Linked DNA regions of Homo sapiens: regions 1 and 2 are each linked to region 3. The links are contacts of gene promoters, found by promoter capture Hi-C in blood cells and fetal thymus (Javierre and others, 2016). All regions are on one chromosome and are shown on one strand. The core of a region is centred on a gene start or on the middle of the fragment in contact, and the rest is flanking DNA. Distances in the headings are between cores, read along the strand shown. Region 1 has its middle 1.4 kb from the start of CYTH4. Region 2 overlaps KCTD17 (potassium channel tetramerization domain containing 17). Region 3 holds the start of IL2RB-AS1 (IL2RB and C1QTNF6 antisense RNA 1).

The links. The method cuts DNA at HindIII sites, captures the fragments that hold promoters and counts their contacts. A CHiCAGO score of 5 or more calls a contact.
Region 1: a contact is called between a fragment that was not itself captured here and the fragment with the promoter of IL2RB-AS1 in region 3, in 1 of 17 cell types (total CD8 T cells). The highest score is 5.3, in total CD8 T cells.
Region 2: a contact is called between a fragment that was not itself captured here and the fragment with the promoter of IL2RB-AS1 in region 3, in 8 of 17 cell types (activated CD4 T cells, total CD8 T cells, M1 macrophages and 5 more). The highest score is 10.4, in activated CD4 T cells.

The regions. Positions count from the first base shown.
Region 1 is chr22:37,279,737-37,282,491 of GRCh38, reverse strand. No RefSeq gene overlaps it. Among named protein-coding and RNA genes, the nearest start is that of CYTH4, 1.4 kb to the left of the region's middle. RefSeq lists an enhancer at 176-225. The HindIII fragment of the contact is 686 bases long and covers 908-1,593 here.
Region 2 is chr22:37,054,367-37,057,297 of GRCh38, reverse strand. KCTD17 (potassium channel tetramerization domain containing 17) reads right to left here. Exons shown (of 9, transcript NM_001282684.2): 3 at 887-978. It also overlaps the pseudogene RN7SKP214. Among named protein-coding and RNA genes, the nearest start is that of KCTD17, 4.1 kb to the right of the region's middle. The HindIII fragment of the contact is 5,049 bases long and covers 1-2,931 here.
Region 3 is chr22:37,165,493-37,168,210 of GRCh38, reverse strand. IL2RB-AS1 (IL2RB and C1QTNF6 antisense RNA 1) reads right to left here and starts at 1,452. Exons shown (of 2, transcript NR_199008.1): 1 at 1,247-1,452. It also overlaps a transcript of IL2RB not described here. RefSeq lists an enhancer at 1,232-1,281. The HindIII fragment of the contact is 5,870 bases long and covers 385-2,718 here.

The DNA of each region.
Region 1 (2,755 bases), core at 1-2,500, 110 kb before region 3:
GATGCGTCACCTTGACTGTAACAGGCTCCTTCCTGCTTGCCCCGCCCAGCCCTGTGTGGGGAGGAAGTCAGTCCTGGCCCACGGGGGTCTCGTGTGCAGGCTTTTGACAAAACAGCACTTCCTAAAAACTGGCAGAGTTTTGAGCAGCAGGGACTTTTGCCAGGGAGGGACAGAGGTGGAAACAAACAAACAAACAAACAAACAAACAGATGAAGTGAGGGGAGGGCCAGATAAAAAAGAGAAAGACAGTGAGACAGAAAGAAACACACAGACACATATGCACATACACACGTACACATGCACAGACACCGAGGGCGATGTTCACTGAGGACGAACATTTTCCAGGGGACCATGGGCATTCACGTGGCAGCCTCCTCACATATATGCCATAGGAGCGCCCAACTTGGACAGTCCTAGCAGGGCCCCCTGTGTTCCACCCCACAAGCTCTCTTCCAACTCCCACTTGAGAAGAGACAAATGAATTCACTGCTAGGAAGGGCTTTGCTTCCCTTCAAAGAAATATCTGGCTTTTTCTTGTCTAGTGAACAATCGGGTAATATGTTCCACTTTCCTTCTCCCCCAGGCTGCTGGGAAACTCATCGTCAAATCCAAAGCTCATCGACAGCTATTCTATGATGTCATGTGAACTTTGGGGCCTGACTCAGCTGTTTGACTCTCAGCTAGGGCTAGTCAGCCTCGCTTTGCTTATCTCTGAAAGGGGAATAACACTAACTCGGGGATATGGAAACCATGGAGTGAGAGGATGTGTCGGAGATGCTTGGGACATAGTAGGTGCTCAATAAACACTTTCTCCTTTGATTTTAATTATCTTCTTTGGTTAAAATGTATCATGTTATTCCTTGTGCCTTTTCTGGCAGGTTGGTTCAAATCCTTTCTGCAAAAAGCTTTGCTGTAAAGAAACAGGTATAAATTAAATGTGAATTCCCTATAACTTCAGGACACATGCAGAGTTATTCATCTGTTTCCCCATTACTCTCCAGGCCCCATGAGGGCAAGGTTACCTTTTGTGTTCTGGTGTGTGGTAAAATGCTGGGGACATAGAGGGTGTGCAAGTGTGGAATGAATGAACAAATGAATGAATGAATGAATGAATGAAGGGAACATGGAAGAGATCACGGCCGATGTGAAAGCTAGCTACAAGTTCACCTCCTTTTCACTATGCCGCCGCTTCTGCTGTCAAGGGGCGAAGTCCATTTCTCCTTCCTTGGAAGCTGAGCTGGCCTTGGGCATCTCTTTGACCAATAGCACGTGGCAGAAATGATGTGCCGTGATGTTCGAGGCTGAGCTTTAAAAGGCCTTGCAGCTCCTGCTCTTGCTCTCAGCCCCCTGCCTGGCTACCATGAGAACAAGCCTGGGCTAGCCTGTTGGAAGACGGAGGACCACAAGGAGATAGGCTGGGCTGTCTTGGCTGTCCCCTGGTTGCTGCCTCATCAGTGAGGCCAGGGGACACCAGAAGAAGAACCATCAAGCGGAGTCCCACCCAAACTGCTGACCCATAGCACTGTGGGAAATAATACATTTTTGTGGTTTAAGCCACCAACTTCTGGGATGCTTTGTTATGCAGCCAAAGCTTGCTGATACAGAAGAAATCCAATGCTGTCATTTCCTCGGAGAGAAAACTGAGGCTTATTTCTGGGAAACACTTGACCAAGTTGGAACTTGAGTGAGTGCCAATTCAGGCCCAGAAGCCAGGCCTACTAAGTCCCCGTCTAGTGTGCTCAGGATTTTTGAACCCCGCTGCTTCTCCCCTGCCCTGCCTCCACCTGGGTTCTTGTATAACTCATGGTTCTTTTCTGGAAAACTTGTTACAATTATTTCCATGGTAAACTAGATTTTTCTCAACTGCTTTGGGCCTGAGGCACCACAAACCATGCCCTTGGCCATTTTAAAACTAGAAATGTGGGCTGGGCATAGTGGCTCATGCCTGTAATCCCAGCACTTTGGGAGGCCGAGGCGGGTGGATCACAAGGTCAGGAGATCAAGACCATCCTGGCCAACGTGGTGAAACCCCGTCTATACTAAAAATACAAAAATTAGCTGGGCATGGTGGCGGGTGCCTATAATGCCAGCTACTTGGGAGGCTGAAGCGGGAGAATCACTTGAACCAGAGAGTCGGAGGTTGCAGTGAGCTGAGATCGCGCCACTGCACTCCAGCCTGGCAACAGAGTGAGACTCCGTCTCCAAAAACAAAACAAAAGAAAAAACAAAACAAACAAAATAACCCCTAGAAATATGGAGAAAGGTATATATAATTCCCTGTGCAGAAAGACTTCACACTGCAGGCCGGAGACTGCTATCTTTAGAAAGTCATGCTTGCAAAGTTGACCCTTGGCTGGCACCTGGGAGCTTGGATTTGGGGAGGGCTCCCACCACCCTAACTGATGAGAGTGGCTTACTGGGCCTAACCTATTTGCCTAGCGTCCCTGGCAGCATCCCATCTCACAGGTGCTTTCACGACTTGTTGCTGGAGGAATTGAGCGTGTCCCGTGTGACTCTTTTGGGAGCAGACTCTTGGAAGCTGCCCCTGGTTTCCTCTGGACTTCGCCACGGCGCCTTTGCGGATTCTGCTTTGAGTCCTTTCACTGCCATAGATCATAGCCGTAAGTATGACCATGAGCTGAGTCCTGGGAGTCCACCTAGTAAACCACTGAACCTGGGATGGCCTTGGGGAAGGCTGCCTGATCTTGCGGCTGATCCAGTAAATGTGTCTTGACCAGGCCACGGTTTGGCATCT
Region 2 (2,931 bases), core at 122-2,621, 110 kb after region 3:
GAAGAAGAGAGGGAGAGAAAGAAGAGGTGGTTGGGGGGAGGCAGCCATGCTCTGAGCACCTGCTCCTCACCAGGCATTTACCAGGCACCATCTCACTTAATCCTTCCAAGAATCCTAGGCATTACGGGACTTTCCATTGAGGCTCAGAGAGGTCCAGTTACTTGCCCAAGGTCACCCAGCTCAAGGGTGAAGGAGACAGAACCGGAACACGGGTAATTCAAGAAAGAACATGGGTGGGGCTTAGGGAACATTCTGGGTCACCCTCAAGGAGTCAGGCCCTCAAGGAGACACGGAGCCTCCCCTCTTTAATCCCCTGGGCCTGAGAAATGGTTCCTCACTACCTGTCCCCCAACCCTCACACATCCCCCAGAGTAGGCGGAAAATCTCTTTCCCTCCTCCTGCAGACTGGCCAGGGAGGCCCAGGCTCCAAGGTCACAAACGCCAGCCCCAACAGCCTGTGCCGAGCCCACCAGGCGACCATCTGATGCCACAAAAGGCACAATTTGCTAATCCTGCATTTTCCTCTGCAGGGCACCCTGTACCTCCACACTGACCCCCTTCTGCCTATGAGGAAGGGATGGGTGTGCCATTCCCACCCCTCTCTATCCCATAAGAGAAAATCAAGGTCCGGAGAGGGCGAGCCTGGCCCAACACACAGCAAATGGGGCTGAGACAGGGACTGAACCCCAGTGTCCGTCTCCGAGTCTGGGGCTGTGCTGGGCAGCCTGTCAGCCCAACCATGCCTCTCCTTACAGGCCAGCTCGGCCTCCCCATGACAAACACTGGTCCTGTCTCTCCCAACCTCCTCTGCTTCCCGCCCCGTCTCTCAGCCTCTCTCTCCCCACTGGCCCCTGCCCTGGCCGTGTGTGCTGCCCCTGCTCCCGACCTGGGTGACCGTGTAGTCCTTCTCTTCCATCCGGTCTTTGATGATGCGGATCAGCGGGCCGATGTTGTAGAACTCGGCTTCCTCCAGGACCCCTGGCACAGACAGAACAGATCCCAGGTCACTCCTTCTGCCTCCATGCCCCATTCTCCTCTTGTTCCCTCCACCCCGAAACCCACCTCTCGCTCTGATCACCCGCCCTGAGGGTGAGCTGAGTGTCTGTGAGTTCAGGGGTCAAGTAAGAGGGAGCATTTCTTTCCTTGGATCCCACACTTCCTGTGGAAGGGGCTGAGGGGCTGCCACACAGCTCTGCTGTGCTGAGTGCGGTGACCCAGGGGTACCTGCCAGGCCACCGTCTGGGGCAGCTTTAGGGCTATCAAGAGACAGCAGGGTCATTGGGACTGATCCCCAGAATGTCACCATGAGCAGGGCCTTGCCTGACCCCTGATTATGTGCTCCTATTTATTAAGCACATTCTAAGTGCCAGGTGCATTACATTTTTGAATTCTCAGAACTAGAAGGAGGTACTTTCATCATCTGCATTGAACAACTGGGAAAACTGAGGCTCCCAAAGAGAAGCAGCTTGTCCAAGGTCACACAGCTGGTAAGTGCCAGAGGGAACTCAAGCGCTGCAGACTCCAGAGCCCATGTCTCCCCACTGTAAGCACATACCCTTGTGTCCATGCATTCCCCCAACTGCCTCACCTTACAGTTTGCAACACCCTGCACGAGCTCATCACAAGTCCAGGGATATGAGGAGAGCAGGCATTACTGTCCCCATCTTACAGTTAAGTTAATCTGGGAGATGAAGAAGTCAGCCCACCAGTGAAGCGATGAGCTTGCAGCTGTTTCGACTCCCCTAGGCTCCCAGAAGGCAGGGGACCTTTGGGCCCTTTCCTTGACTGGCCTCTGGGCTCCCTGGGGACAGAGCTCATTATGAGCAGAATGTGTGTGTTCCCCAAAAATCCACCTGCTGAAAACTGTGATGGGATTAGGAGGGGAGGTAATGAGATCATGGGGGTAGAGTCCCCAGGGTAGGATCAGTCTTCTTATAAGAAAGGCTAATTGGATGTGAGGGCGATCTGGCGGGGACATCTGTCACTCCACTGATCACCAGGGTTGATTTAGCTGATCTGGCTGGCTAGATGTGTGTCCCCTTCCTCCCTCACTGCTCCAGGTGTGTCCCTCCCGAAGCTGTGAGCTCCATCGAAGGGGGCGACCACCCCCGATAGAGGAGGACCGGACTTTGGTCAAGGGTATGTGAGTAGCTGCGCTCCCCTGCTAGAACCTCCAAACAAGCTCTCGAGAAGGGGCGGGCGAGGGCTAGCTCCCTCTCTTTCTGCCATGTGAGGACACAACGAGAAGTCAGCAGTCTGCAATCCGGAAGAAAGTCCTCACCAGAACCTGCCACAGTGCCCCGATCTCGGGTTTCTAGCCTCTAGGACCAAGAGAAATAAATTTCTGATTTTCATAAGCCACCCAATCTATGTTACTTCATGATTGCAGCCTGAAATGGCTAAGATGGGGCTCACATTTCTGATCTGCCCTCTGTCCCCGGTGCCCACACAGGACCAAACACAGAGCAGGAGGTCAGGGAGTGCAGCTGCCTGATTACGAGAATTATCCCCAGTGCCCTGGGCGGAGCCCTGCAGGTGACAGACAGCTAGCACTGCATCCCACATCCTCCGGCCAGGAACTGAGCTCCATGCTGCACTATTAACTCCTTTTATCCTCATGACAGCTCGGTGAGGTGGGTGCTATGGTCCCCCATTTCACAGATGGGGGCATGCAGACACAGAGGGGTTAGGTCACTTTCTCAGTGTCACACAGCTAGTAAGTCTCCTCTCAGATCCCCTATCCCCTGGATGAGCCCTAGCCCTGTGTATCCCCTAGCCCCCGGATAGCCCTGCGTGATCCCCTAGCCCCCGGATAGCCCTGTGTGATCCCCTAGCCTCCGGATAGCCCTGTGTGATCTCCTAGCCCCCAGATAGCCCTGTGTGATCCCCTAGCCCCCAGATAACCCTGTCTGATCCTCTAGCCCCCAGACA
Region 3 (2,718 bases), core at 203-2,702:
CGTCTTAGCCAGTTTAGAATCAAATCACATGTATTTACTCTTCTCACGTGATACCAGGACTGTTCTGAAAGTTCAGGCCAAGGGTCACCACATTGACACGATTTCCTTAGTTATAATCATTTGCATACTTGTCCTACCTCCATACCAAGAGAAGGTACTCTGAGTTAGAGTTCAAATCCCACACATCCTTGTCATTCCCACAGTGCCCAGCATGCTGCTGCCAGCAGGTGCTCAGTAAATCCTTACTGAACTCATGCAAAGGGGACAGACGCCACCTCAGCCCAACACCAAGATTGTCCTCCCTCCCTCCCGCACCCCTTCCCTTCCTCCCTTGCTTCCCATCTTTCAATAAATGCAGTTTGAATGCATTTGTCACACAAAGCTTTAGGCTCAGAGAAGCTGTGGGACTCCATGCACTTCACCTGTGGCCTTGAGGCACCGCAGTCCAGCCAGGAAGACAGACACCAGGCAAATCCTCCCACCTATGCCCAGTCAATTAGGAATATGAGCACCTGATCCAGTGATGGGCAGGGCAGCATCCACTTTAGATGCACGGGGTGCTGGGAAAGCTGCCCTGAGAAAGTGACCGCAGGCTGAGGCCTGGGGCAGAGAGAACGTGGGCAGGGGCTCGAGGCAGGGAAGAGCTTGGAGACTTCCAGGAACTGCCAGACAGCCAGGGGCAGTGGGGCAAGGGAGAGAAGAAGCCAGAGAGGCCGCAGGCCTGGGCTTTCCATGGCGAGGAGGCCTGGATACTGCATAAGTGCAGCAGGAAATGTTGGGTGGGGTCGGATTTTCACTTTACAAGGGCAGTCGCTGGGGCAGAGGGCATGGGACTCAGGGAGGGACTCAGGAGGCAGAGAGATGGTGGGACGAGACTGAGGGTGCCGGCTGGGGCTGGGGGTAGAGGACTGTGAGCGCTTGGCACTTGGAGGCAGTCAGAGCTGGTCTGGGCAGGGGTGCTGTCACCCAGGGCCGAGGAAAGGGATACAGGAGGGGCAGAGGGTGGGTCGGAGGCTGTCCTGGGAACCCTAAACGTGGGGGCCAGGAGAAGGAGGTGCTCCCGTTTCTGATCTGTACCAATTAAGGGGAAGGTGAGAAATTGCTTGGGTGGAGTGTCCTTCTCTGAGTCTGGGGGTTAGGTGGGATGAGGGGACCTCGGAGGCTGGAGGCCAGAGTTCACACTCCTGCCCTGCTGTGTGACCTAAGGCTGAGAGCTGCCTCTCTCTGGGCCCAGATGCATCATTACCTATTCAGCAAGCAGCTGGGCCTGAGAGCCTCCGAGATCCCTTGCAGGTCTGCTGGTCTCGGCTGCCTTTCCTTGGTCTGCCCTCATGCTGTCTTCCCAGAAGCCAGGGGCCCAGTTTGCTTCCCCTGCTTGTCCTGTGGGCACTTGCGACTCCCGGGGAGGCAGCAGACACGGTCCAGCGTGGTCACGCTCCTGGCCGCGACTTCACCTCCCTCCTGCAGCACAAGTCTCGAGGAGGCTGGGGAGGTGCGCGCACTGCCCTCTGGTGGCAACTTCTGGGCCCACCTGTCATTGTGCCCTGCTGTTTTCTAACTCAATTATTCTTGAAGGGATGATTGAGCGCCTTTTGCATGCAAAGTCCCGAGGTAGGCATGAAGTAGTTGGGCAGTCCAGATGGGGGAGAAGGTGTCGTGGATGTGGAGCCCAGGGTGTCACTCTACGCGCTCCCGATCCCTCCCAAGGCCTAGGCGTCCTCCCTCCACCGCGGGAACGGAGCAGGGGTGGCACAGAACTCTGGTGGCTGCAATGAGGGTTCAACGGTTGAATGCGTGGAGTGCATCTTAGCTTCACTTCTGGCCCAGGAAGCGCAGGCTCCGTGTACAACACACGCAGCGGTGCAGTGCCTTCAAAGGGGGCGTGTGGCTGTGTGTGTGGATGTGCCAGTTTTGGGCTTCCTCTCGGCAGGAGGTGGGGGGGCGGGGAGGCTCTGGCGCTGAGTGCCCCCTTTCCATTGCGGTCCTTTGGTGCAGTTGAGGGTCCCCCCAGTAGCAGGGGCATTTCCAAGGAGCCAGGACTTCAAGGGCCTAAGGCTGGAGGGGCCCTGTCCAGTGCAACAGAGAGACCTTGAGCATGGGCGGTGAGGTCACCTCTCCTGGCCCAGCTATCAGCTGAGCTGGATGTGCATGGCTCAGGTTTGCACAAAGGAGGCCCACCTGTTCACAGGAGTTCTGGAAAGAACACACCTGTGGCAAAGACACACACACGTGCACACCAGACAGGCCATGATCTCGCTCCCCTGGCGAGGAATGACTTCCTTGCCGTAGGGAGAATTCAGGGGAGTCTGGCCCTCTTGAGGAGATGCTGTAGAGGGGAGTTGTGGACGGTTGGATTCAGGATGTTTTCAGCTCCAAGTGTCTGCTTTAGGCCGGTCTGCACCTGTGTCCTCCCCGCCTCTGTCCTTCTGGCACTTGCCCTGGGTAGGCCTGGCTCAAAGCCCTCTTCTCCCCTCCTCCCCCAACCCCACAAACAATAATAAAATTAAATTAAATTAAATTAAATTAAATTTTTAAAAAAAGCCCTCTTCTCCATGAAGCCTGCCCTGAAGAGGCAGCTGCCCAGGAGCATCTGCACATCTCATACAAACTTTAGCTGTGATTATATTGCATTCGTTCCCATGCCTATTTCCTGTCCCTGCAGCTAAACTCTGGGCTCCTTGAGGGCTGGGTGGAGTCTTGGGCATCTTTTGTGGCTGC